Linked DNA regions of Homo sapiens: regions 2 and 3 are each linked to region 1. Evidence: promoter capture Hi-C in 16 types of primary human blood cells and fetal thymus (Javierre and others, 2016). All regions are on one chromosome and are shown on one strand. Each heading gives the region's core, a stretch centred on a gene start or on the middle of the fragment in contact. The rest is flanking DNA. Distances are from core to core; before and after follow the strand shown. Region 1 holds the start of B4GALT4 (beta-1,4-galactosyltransferase 4). Region 2 has its middle 5.7 kb from the start of LRRC58. Region 3 has its middle 1.7 kb from the start of NDUFB4.

The links. Contacts are between HindIII fragments. The CHiCAGO score rates a contact against its expected background, and 5 or more counts as called.
Region 2: a contact is called between a fragment that was not itself captured here and the fragment with the promoter of B4GALT4 in region 1, in 2 of 17 cell types (total CD8 T cells and non-activated CD4 T cells). The highest score is 5.6, in total CD8 T cells.
Region 3: a fragment that was not itself captured here is called in contact with the fragment with the promoter of B4GALT4 in region 1 in 7 of 17 cell types (naive CD8 T cells, total B cells, non-activated CD4 T cells and 4 more); the score reaches 5.8 in naive CD8 T cells.

Annotation. Positions count from the first base shown.
Region 1 is chr3:119,239,628-119,243,460 of GRCh38, reverse strand. B4GALT4 (beta-1,4-galactosyltransferase 4) reads left to right here and starts at 2,583. Exons shown (of 8, transcript NM_003778.4): 1 at 2,583-2,611. The region is part of intron 3 of B4GALT4-AS1 (B4GALT4 antisense RNA 1); the gene reads right to left. RefSeq lists silencers at 1,717-1,766, 2,417-2,896. The HindIII fragment of the contact is 11,429 bases long and covers 1,881-3,833 here.
Region 2 is chr3:120,353,332-120,356,848 of GRCh38, reverse strand. It overlaps the pseudogene BTNL12P. Among named protein-coding and RNA genes, the nearest start is that of LRRC58, 5.7 kb to the right of the region's middle. The HindIII fragment of the contact is 8,642 bases long and covers 1-3,517 here.
Region 3 is chr3:120,592,878-120,596,302 of GRCh38, reverse strand. No RefSeq gene overlaps it. Among named protein-coding and RNA genes, the nearest start is that of NDUFB4, 1.7 kb to the left of the region's middle. The HindIII fragment of the contact is 1,888 bases long and covers 532-2,419 here.

The DNA of each region.
Region 1 (3,833 bases), core at 1,334-3,833:
GAAGGTCAGCAGATAAACATGTGAACAAAGGTCTCTGGTTTTCCTAGGCAGAGGGCCCTGCCGCCTTCCGCAGTGTTTGTGTCCCTGGGTAGTTGAGATTAGGGAGTGGTGATGACTCTTAGCGAGCACGCTGCCTTCAAGCATCTGTTTAACAAAGCACATCTTGCACTGCCCTTAATCCATTTAACCCTTAGTGGACACAGCACATGTTTCAGAGAGCAGGGGGTTGGGGGTAAGGTTATAGATTAACAGCATCCCAAGGCAGAAGAATTTTTCCTAGTACAGAACAAAATGGAGTCTCCTATGTCAACTTCTTTCTACACAGACACAATAACAATCTGATCTCTCTTTCTTTTCCCCACATTTCCCCCTTTTCTATTGGACAAAACCGCCATCGTCATCATGGCCCGTTCTCAATGAGCTGTTGGGTACACCTCCCAGACAGGGTGGTGGCCGGGCAGAGGGGCTCCTCACTTCCCAGACGGGGCTGCCGGGCAGAGGGGCCCCCCACCTCCCAGACGGGGCGGCGGCCGGGCAGAGGGGCCCCCACCTCCCAGACGGGGCGGCGGCTGGGCAGAGGCGCCCCCCACCTCCCGGACGGGGCGGCTGGCCGGGCGGGGGCTGCCCCCCACTTGCCGGGCGGGGCGGCTGGCCAGGCGGGGGCTGCCCCCCCACCTCCCGGGCGGGGCGGCTGGCTGGGCGGCTGCCCCCCACCTCCCGGACCAGGCAGCTGCCCGGCGGAGGGGCTCCTCACTTCTCAGACAGGGCGGCCAGTCAGAGACGCTCCTCACCTCCCAGACGGGGTGGCGGCGGGGCAGAGACACTCCTCAGTTCCTAGACGGGTCGCCGCCGGGCAGAGGCATTCTTCACCTCTCAGACGGGGTGGTGGGGCAGAGGCGCTCCCCACATCCCAGATGATGGGCGGCCAGGCAGAGACGCTCCTCACTTCCTAGACGGGGTGGCGGCCGGGAAGAAGCGCTCCTCACTTTCCAGACTGGGCGGCTGGGCAGAGGGGCTCCCCACATCCCAGATGATGGGCGGCCAGGCAGAGACGCTCCTCACTTCCTATACGGCGTGGCAGCAGGGCAGAGGCTGCAATCTCGGCACTTTGGGAGGCCAAGGCAGGCGGCTGGGAGGTGGAGGTTGTAGCGATCCGAGATCAAGCCACTGCACTCCAGCCTGGGCAACATTGAGCACTGAGTGAGCGAGACTCCGTCTGCAATCCCGGCACCTCGGGAGGCCGAGGCTGGCAGACCACTCGCGGTCAGGAGCTGGAGACCAGCCCGGCCAACTCGGCGAAACCCCGTCTCCACCAAAAAATACGAAAACCAGTCAGGTGTGGCGGTGCGCGCCTGCAATCCCAGGCACTCGGCAGGCTGAGGCAGGGGAATCAGGCAGGGAGGCTGCCGTGAGCCGAGATGGCGGCAGTACAGTCCAGCCTCGGCTCGGCATCAGAGGGAGACCATGCAAAGGGGAGACGAGGACCGTGCAAAGGGGGGAGGGAGATGGGGAGGGAGACAGAGAGGGGGAGGGGGAGGGGAAAAGCTGAGTGATTCTTGCAAAAGGTATATATTATGCTTCCAGGCATCATATGCTCAAGACCTGGGGACTATGTGGGTATAAGTAACTGATTGTATAACGCCACTGGATGAAATCCAGTAATGTCCTTTTTCACTAAATGTGGTTATACACCCTTACAGCATGTTACAAAGGGAACACAAAAAAATAAGTTTCACACTGGACCTTGTTCAGGAGCAGTGTTGACCTATTTCACTGACCTATCCTCAACTGCCACTAGGTGGCCCTCTTTTCCAGCTTCCAAGGGCCTACATTGGGCCTATGCGGCCTCAGTATAGCCTCAGATTTCCTGCTATGAAGCTTAATGAGCCCAGCACTGGCTCTAGCTATGGTTTGTTCCTTTTTGGGTGGAGTGGATGTGTGGTTCTTGGAGAATCTACTACTTTCCCGTGAGTGCAGTGGGAGACTGCATTAGAGAATCTAGCTATCCTGACTGCCTAAACAGAGCCTACCATAATTTTTCACTCAAATCTTTAGTGTAAATATAATTGTCTTTGCTTTCTGTAATAATATCTTTGAAGAAATACGGATTTAAAAAAATCATTTAATATTCTCAGACCTGCAACATGGGAAAAATATTATTATTATTATTATCATTTTTGCAGTTGAGAGGGCTGAAATCTCGCAGGGTGATTAAGTTTATTAGCCTCTCTAAAGTCTCAGTTTCCCACTCTGTAAAATGGAAGGGTCCCTATCTCTTTCCTACTGCTTTGTGAGTATTTAAGGGGATGGAATTTGGGAAGCGCTCAGCACCCAGTCTACTATTGGCACAGGGTTTTAAAGCCACCCAGAGGCCGAGGCGTCAACCCTCCGTTTCCCTCCCGGTGCTCCTTCCAGCGCCCGGTGTGGTCGATTTGGCGGGGGTGGAGCGCCAGGCGCGTGCAGAGCCGGGCGGACCAGCCTCTCCGGCCAAGGCGGGAGGCGGAGCTCGTACTCAAGAGCCGCCTCCCGGGCGGCTGGGGCGGTCCCCGAGCTGCTTTCCGCGTTCTCCCCTCTCCGCGGGCAGTGCTAGCTCGCCGCGGCCGCCTCCGGGGTGAGTACGCTGGCTCCGCCGGCGCCCGGGAAATGCAGTTCCCTGGACACGGGCGCCGTGCGAGGGTAGCCGGGCGACGGCCGGGGTCAGTCCCAGGGCTGTAGCGGGGCGGGCGTGGGGATGACGTGGCGGCGTCCGTGGGGCAGTCCCGCCTCAGCCGGAGCGGTGGGCCGGGCCGGGGGCCTACGGAGGCCGAGCCTGGCGGGAGGCACCGGCTCAGGTGCTGGCGTTCCGCGCGGCGCCGCCTCTGCTGCGGGCCGGGGGAGCCAGACGAGGTGCTGCCGGGTAGGAAAAAATCCAGGGCTCATTCATACCCCAGGTCACGATTCCGGGGTCGCCCCCAGCACTTCTCCGCCGGGTGCATCAACCTGAAAAAGCCCCTTCTTCCTGGAAACCCTCCTTCTCCAGCGTTTCAACGGGGAAACTGATCAGCTGACACCAGCCCCAGTCCTGCGAGGGGCCGGCGACCTTTGACCTTTCTCCAAAGGGGTTGGTCACCTGGATTATAAAAGACTTCGGAGACAGCCATCCAGTGTTTGTTGATCTGTATCCCTTGATGTTCTGTCTTCCATTAGATAAGGGCTGTTAATTCTTGGTTTGAAAAAAAACAGACAAAGTCCAAAGGACTCTGCATCGAGGAGAGGCCTATGGGTTGGTAGCCTTAGGAGAGTAGTTATCAACAGTGGGTGGGTGTGCACACTGTTGCAAAGTGTTCCAGAGTGGGTGAGGGATGGGGACGTGGCGGTGGTGAGGGTACTGGTAGACCTCCTCAGCCGTTTGGTGATGAAAAGGAGGAAAAAGAAAATGGTAATCTGAGCGTGGAGGCGAGTTGTGGCTTTTTTTTTTTTTTTTAAATTTTTAAAGAAAGGAAAATAACACCTTTAAGATGCAAGAAAATCAAGGAGAGATCAGGATGAATAGGATTCAGGGTCCGGATTGAGAAACTGGGATTCAGAAGGGAGGGCTATTCCCGAGACCCAGGCGGGGAGTGCTGGAAGGTCTCTCTTGGGAGAGGAGATAATGCTTGATTGGATATAGTTCAGAAGTTTTTGGAATTTTGTCTTCTAGAGCAGGTTTGTTCTTTATGGAAATTGTAAACCCCATGAAATTGCAATAACTTTCGTCTACCTATAGCTTTGATCAGATTGAAAACATACGTTGTGAAAAAGTACTGACCTGGATTGAACTGTTTGACTACATAATCTAAGGGGAAGTGGATAGA
Region 2 (3,517 bases), core at 946-3,445, 1.1 Mb before region 1:
TTCCTGGTTTTGCATCTCCAGGTCCTCTCAGTTTCTCAAATCACTTTTAGTGGCTGAGTGAAGGAAACAACTATGCAGTTTCAAAATAAAGCTATATCCATTAACACAACGTATTGAAGAATTTTTGTTTTGGATTTGTTGTTTAGCCCTGGTTTTGTTTTGGTTTTCTCAAGAAAACAACTGGAATATAACGGAATGAAATAATTATGACCAGTTTGTGTCACTTCTCGAATTCATACTATGGGGGCTGAGGCTTGACTTACATTTGACTTTCACCTGAAGCAGAGGAGGAATATCTTGATGCTAGCACAGTATTGAGAAACCATGAGGAATACTTTGTACTCAGATATAAGACTATTTCTACAGGTGCCACAATCCACAGACTCTCCCAAGCCTTGCAGTCTTCGTGAAAAGACTGCAAGGCTAATAAAGAACACAAGTTAAGGAAATGGGATCTGGAGCTTCCAGTGAGGGCAGAATCAGAGGTGATCTCCTACCTAGTATTCATACCTCTTTCTCCAAGGCCTAGACACACCTATCATTTCAAAGTCTACTACTCTTCCTCTGTGCTGTATCTTAACAGTACACCTTAGATTTTTGGGGGCAAAGTTAAAATTTTAAATATTTTCTCCCATAATTATCTAAAGCATATCAATATTTGTCTATTCTAACCATCAGCACTAAGCATGCCAACCAAACCAGACCCCTTACCATTTCCCAAATATATGCTATAATTTTCTCCTTTTTGCTATGCTTTGTAAGAAATATTTTCTTTTTTCCTTCAATTTTGTATATTTCATCCCAGCTCTATCCAAATCCCATTGTCCTCTGAAAGCTATCCTAACTGTGGTAGCCTAAATGGTCTTTTTCCTCTGAACTTTGATAGCTTTTGGTTATGTTTCTGTATGAGTTACCAAATGTTATTTTATATTTTAGTTACTTTGGGTTCATGTTTTTAAAAATAACTTTATTGATATATACTTCATATATTTTCCTATCATACAATTTACTTACTTAAAGTGTACAGTTCAATGATTTTTTAGTAGTATATTCATAGTTGTACAACCATCACCACAATGAATTTTAGAACAATTTCATCCTGCCAAAAAGAAACCCTGTACTCATTAGCAACCACTGCCCATTCTCCCTTCCCTCTAGCTCTCGGCAACCACTAATCTACTTTCTGTCTCTAAAGATTTGCCTATTTTGGAGGATTTCATATAAATAGAATCATACAGTAGGTGTTCTTTTATGACTGGTTTCTTTCACTTATGTGTCAGAATAATGTTTCCAAGATTCATCCATGTTGTAACATGTATCAGCACTTCATTTCTTTTTGTTGCTGAATAATGTTCTATTGTATGTAAATACCACATTTTATTTATCCTTCATCAGTTGGTAGAGATTTGGTTTGATTCTATTTTTTGACTATGATGAAAAATGCTGTTATGAACACTCATGTGTAAGTTTTTGTGACGACGTATGTTTTCATTTCTGTTGGGTATATACCTGGGAGTAGAACTGCTGGATCATATGGTAACTATTTTTTTTAACCTTTTGAAGAACAGCCAGACTATTTTCCAAAGTGGCTGCACCACTTTTTCATCCCCAGTATTGGTCTATAAGGGTTCCAATTTCTCTACATCTGCACCATCACTTACTAGCTGTCTTTTATATTTTAGCCATCTTAGTGGGTATGAGTAGTAGCTCACTGTGATTTTAATTTGTATTTCCCTGATGGCTAATGATGTTGATCACCTTTTCATGTGTTTATCAGTGATTTTTATATCTTTTTTGGAGAAATGTCTACTCAGATCTTTTGCCCTTTTTAACTTGGATTTCTTTATAGGTTCATGTTTAATCTCTGTTACCAGACAGTAAATCTCTTGAAGGCAGTGATTGTATTTGAACAAAATCATGAACATTTTACTATGTTGTTATCCAGCACACCATAAATATGTGACTTGGCAAGTTAGTTAATTTTCCCACATCTCGGTTTTCTTGTCTGAAGAATGATGATAATAATATGTACCTTATAGAAGGGATGTGAGGATTAAATAAAAATAATCCCTAGACAGAGCCCCTAGGACAGTGCCTGGCACTTATAAAATAACCAATAAACATTACCTATTATTCTTACTAGTTTTTATACCTTGCAATATATAGTACAGTTTCTTACACACAGTAGGTACTCAATGTCTATCTGTGAATGAATTAGGGATTAAAATTATTTTAGCTCATTTATAGTTGTAGTTATGACTAGCTATCTATGAAAAGGTCAAACAAGCCAATATGGAACCAACATAAGCTGAGCAAGTGGATAAAATTTAAAAGATAGTCACTTCAACTCCCAAAACAATCAATAAGGAAAACACCGCACCGGGTCTAAGATAAACCCCTAAATGGAGTGAATTCAACGGGAGTAGCCATGAAGATGCTTTTATAGCTCTAACAAATGCTTAGTCAAAGACTCCAAAGATATCCAAAGATGTCATTATTTGAATCTTCAAAATAAAAGGGACTAAACTTCGATAAAGAAGCCCGGAGACATATTTCAGGAGACATTTTAATCTATCAATTCTACAGCAATAGCAAACTGTGGCAGAGGAAGAACTGCTGAAAATCAAACTGCTAGACCTTATATCACAAAACTGGCTGAAGACTTACTCTTGGTCCCTATAAATATAGAAGCCAACTCCTCCTCAGGATCGATTGAAAGACTATAGCTCCTTCTACTTTCAATGCTGCCCTAAACATAGAGTAACCGGTTTTTGAGATTTGGACAATTGGCAGGGAGATGGCAGAACTTTAAACCATCCTAGGCCAATATGGATAAACCAGACTGAGAGGGATTTAGCAGTGGAAATAAATCAAAACCTTGCATGCTAGCCTAAGCAACTGGCCTTCATCTGATAAGCAATGAGGAAACATGGGGTAAAGGCAGGAGGAAAAGAGATGGGTTGAAATCATGAAAGCAGTGCTTTAGAAAGGACAGTCTGAATCAGAGGTGGCTAAAATAAAGGTAGGAGTGGGTTTAGCAGGCATGAGGTCCTGATATACCTTGAAGACAAAAAAGACAATAAGCATAAATCTTGGGCAAGAGAGGTCAGACCAACCTCCCAAATCCTAATCCCTAAGACACAGAATGGCCCAGAGCAGAGGACCATGGTTTATGTAGGAAATTGTGCAATCATGAGTAAAGACTGTTCTCAACTTTGTTTTTCTACCCTGATCATGATATAACAAGTGGCAGAGAGCAATAGTTATAACATTAACTACTATTACAGCTAATAATAATAATTGCCACTACTTACAGAGTATTGACTTTGTGCTAGGTACTATGCTAAGCACTTTAGATTTTCACCTTACAATGACCCTATGGAACAGATAATATATTTTATAATACAGATGATGAAATCAAGCCTTACAGAAATTAAGTAACAAAATCAAGATTAAGTAAGAGAAATCTGATTTCCAGAGGTGGGTTTTGAAACCTGTATCTGATAAAAACCAAAGC
Region 3 (3,425 bases), core at 226-2,725, 1.4 Mb before region 1:
GACCTTCAGCTTCAGGAAGTGCGCCTGCGCGTTAGCAGAGGTTGGGGATGTCGTTAACAAGGAGCTCCGCCTCTTTCTCCTACCTTCCCGAACACGGCGCGTTCGCTCGGTGATATGCGCATGCGCGAAGTGCTCTTCTCGCAGTGCGCCCTGCCCCACCGCCGCTCCCCACCTACTCATCTGTCACCGCGCTGCTTCTTCCTAGCAGCCTTGTCTCTACTGACATAACCAGGGCTTATTATGTAAAGTTGAGCTGTGTGGGACTGGCTGTGGAGTCAGAAGTCCGGGTTTTCATTGTGGGTCTAACCGTGCTGTGTCACCTTGGATAAGTCACTTAAAGTCTCTGAGTTTCCTTTTCCTTATCCTGGAGATAATGACTCCTGTCCACCTAGCAAAGTTGTTGTGAGGATTAAATAAGCTAACAAATAGATCACAAAGTGCTTTGCAAAACAGAATTCCCTACCCAAGAAGAAGAGAATAAGCTTTTCTGTACTTTACCATGCTAGATTCATACAACATTAAGTGTAAGCTTATTTTTCACAGGTACGAAATAATGATTAATAGGAAAAATGATGTTATAAGAGAAATGTTGCCTGACTGACTATAGAAGGTCAGGAAGAAAATGAGATACTGAATAAAGCTCATGAGAAAACATCTTAGTTAAAATACTAAAACCTCTTGCCTAAAATCCTTAGCACTCTTCAGATGCAAAGAATTAAAAACATCCTTACAGGTATGAAAATACTCATAGGGGCATGTATCTTATTGTAAAAGACGATCTGGGGCGAAAACTGAAGTAATCAGAAACAAAACCTTCTCTGTCCCTACTGTCCTTCCTTCTCCCCAGTTACCAAGGAGAAAAACAACTTCAAGTTTCACAGCAGGGTCTTTGGGTTCCCCTTCTCCTCAGGGGAAAAAATGTAAACAATATTTCCATAACTCGGGCAAAGAAGGATGGATCAAAAGAGAGCCCCAGCTTGGCTGAAACGTCTGGGGGCGCGTAGGTATGTTGGGAAATGGTTGCTAGAAAAGGGACCTAGAAAGTGTTGGCATTTGAAATGATGAGAAGCAGCACTGCTGTCAAATTTATTCAACATTTTAATACTGTTTTAAAATATTTATTAAGCACCCACCGCGTGAAGCACACAGCACACTAGTCAGTGTTAAGTCAATCTTCTAGGCTCAGTGGGGGAAATCCAGACAAAATGGAAGATGGGGTGTTTGCCTTTCGGGAGCTGACAATCAGGCAGTACAGAAAGAATAGGCAGAAATGGTAATATTTCAAAGTAGTCTAATGTCCAGATGAATATAGAGCAAAATGGACTCATGAGGATTCAGGCTGAGAGAATGTAGAAAAAATGAACACAAGACGAGTTACTCAGACTCGATTTTAAAGGAGAAAAAAAAAGGAAATTCTGACTTGTTCAAAGGTGTTTTGAAATACTAAGAAAATAATACAATATGAAAAGCAAGAGCAGTTTATAAAATTCTAAAGACTACATAAAGTTTCCAAAACCTGTATAGATTAGACACTGATCTAGGAAGGAGAGCATGTAAAAAGAATAAAAGGATAAAGGAATGAGTCCAGCGAGTACGAACTGATGCAGGGCAGGCGAGCCCCAAAGTGGGGCTTAGGCAACCAGGGAACTTGGCTTTGCCCAGGAAAGAATTCAAGGGCAACCCGGAGGTAGAAGAAAACAATTTTATTGAAGAGGCAGTGTTACAGCTTTGGTGGTGTCACAACCGTGACTGCTCCTGTAGAGCAGGGCCACCTCATAGGCAGAAAGCACCAGCTCAGGCCAGCTTTGAGTCACATTTATACCCACATTTGGCAGTTTGGCCGGGCGCGGTGGCTCACGCCTGTAATCCCAGCACTTTGGGAGGCCGAGGCGGGCGGATCACGAGGTCAGGCGATCAAGACCATCCTGGCTTACACGGTGAAACCCCGTCGCTACTAAAAATACAAAAAAAAATTAGCTGGGCGTGGTGGCGGGCGCCTGTAGTCCTAGCTACTCGGGAGGCTGAGGCAGGAGAATGGTGTGAACCAGGGAGGCGGAGCTTGCAGTGAACCGAGATCGCGCCACTGCACTCCAGCCTGGGCGACAGAGCGAGACTCCGTCTCAAACAAACAAACAAACAGACAAAAAAGTAAAGAGGCAGTTTATGCAGACATTTCTAGGGAAGGGGTAGCAACTTTTGGGTCATCAGGTCATTGCCCTGGAAAGGGGTGGTAACTCCTGGGTGTTGCCATGGCAATGATGAACTGACACACTGGTGTGTGTATCTGATGGAAAGCGGCTTCCACCTCCGACCTGTTTAGGCTAGTGCTCAATTTGGTTCGGTGTCCGAGTCCTACCTCCTACCTCAAACCAGCTGACTAGGTTAAAGAAGATTTCTTAAGGTTACTATAAAGAAAGCTTTGGATGAGTTAAAGTAGTTATTACCACACTTGCCTGATTATCACGAGGATTGCTTATGATGAGTGTTAAAAAAAAAGGGAGTTTAGCCAGGTGTGGTAGCATGTACCTGTAGTCCCAGCTACTGGAGAGGCTGAGGCCGGAAGATCCCTTGATCCCAGGAGTTTAAGTCTAGCCTAGACAACATAGTGAGACTGCACCTCTAAAAAAAAAAATGAAGTAAAAATAATTAGTAAATTAAAATATGGAATTTTTTTTTAACTCCTAGTTCCCGTTCTCCACCTGGAGATTCAAAATTGGTATGGCAGAGGAACCCAAGAGTCTGTATTTTTTACAATTTCCAGTGGGGGAGTGGTGGTATTAAAATATATTACATGCTTGTAAAACAGAGATGAGTACAAAAGGTCTTTCTTTTCCAAAGATAATTGGTACCAGAAAAGGCCCTCTTAGAATGAATCCATTAAAGATAGAGATGTAGATTCCATAGTGAAAGAGTGAAAGAAAAAGACTTGATTTGAACTTTATATTGAAAAAAATTCAACCCAAACTTATAAAAATGAATTTATCTTATATTTAACACGTTAGGTTACAACTGCAAGTATGTGCTAATTCTGGTAACTCAAATGTTGTTTTGGAGGAGGGACATAATTTTTTATATGGCTCATTATCCTTCACTGTGCATTTGATTTTTGCTGCAGGGTCTTACTTGCAAAAGTTTTGGAGGCGTTTATCTAGTTTTCCCAAAGACCTCTCTTAATCCTTTGAAATCAGATTATTTCTCTTTGATGTATTGATGTCAACATCGTTCTCATTGTTTTTCTCTTTTTCATTTGTTATCTGGTCCAACTCTGTGAAGTCCTCCTTTATTAATGACTTTGCATGTGGATCCAGCAGTTTACTAACATCAATTTCAAGATCATGAAATTCCACATCTTTTGTAAATTTGCACTTTTAATTTGCAATAGATTTCAGTTGTATTTGAGGGCTAGATATTTCCAAATGAATGAC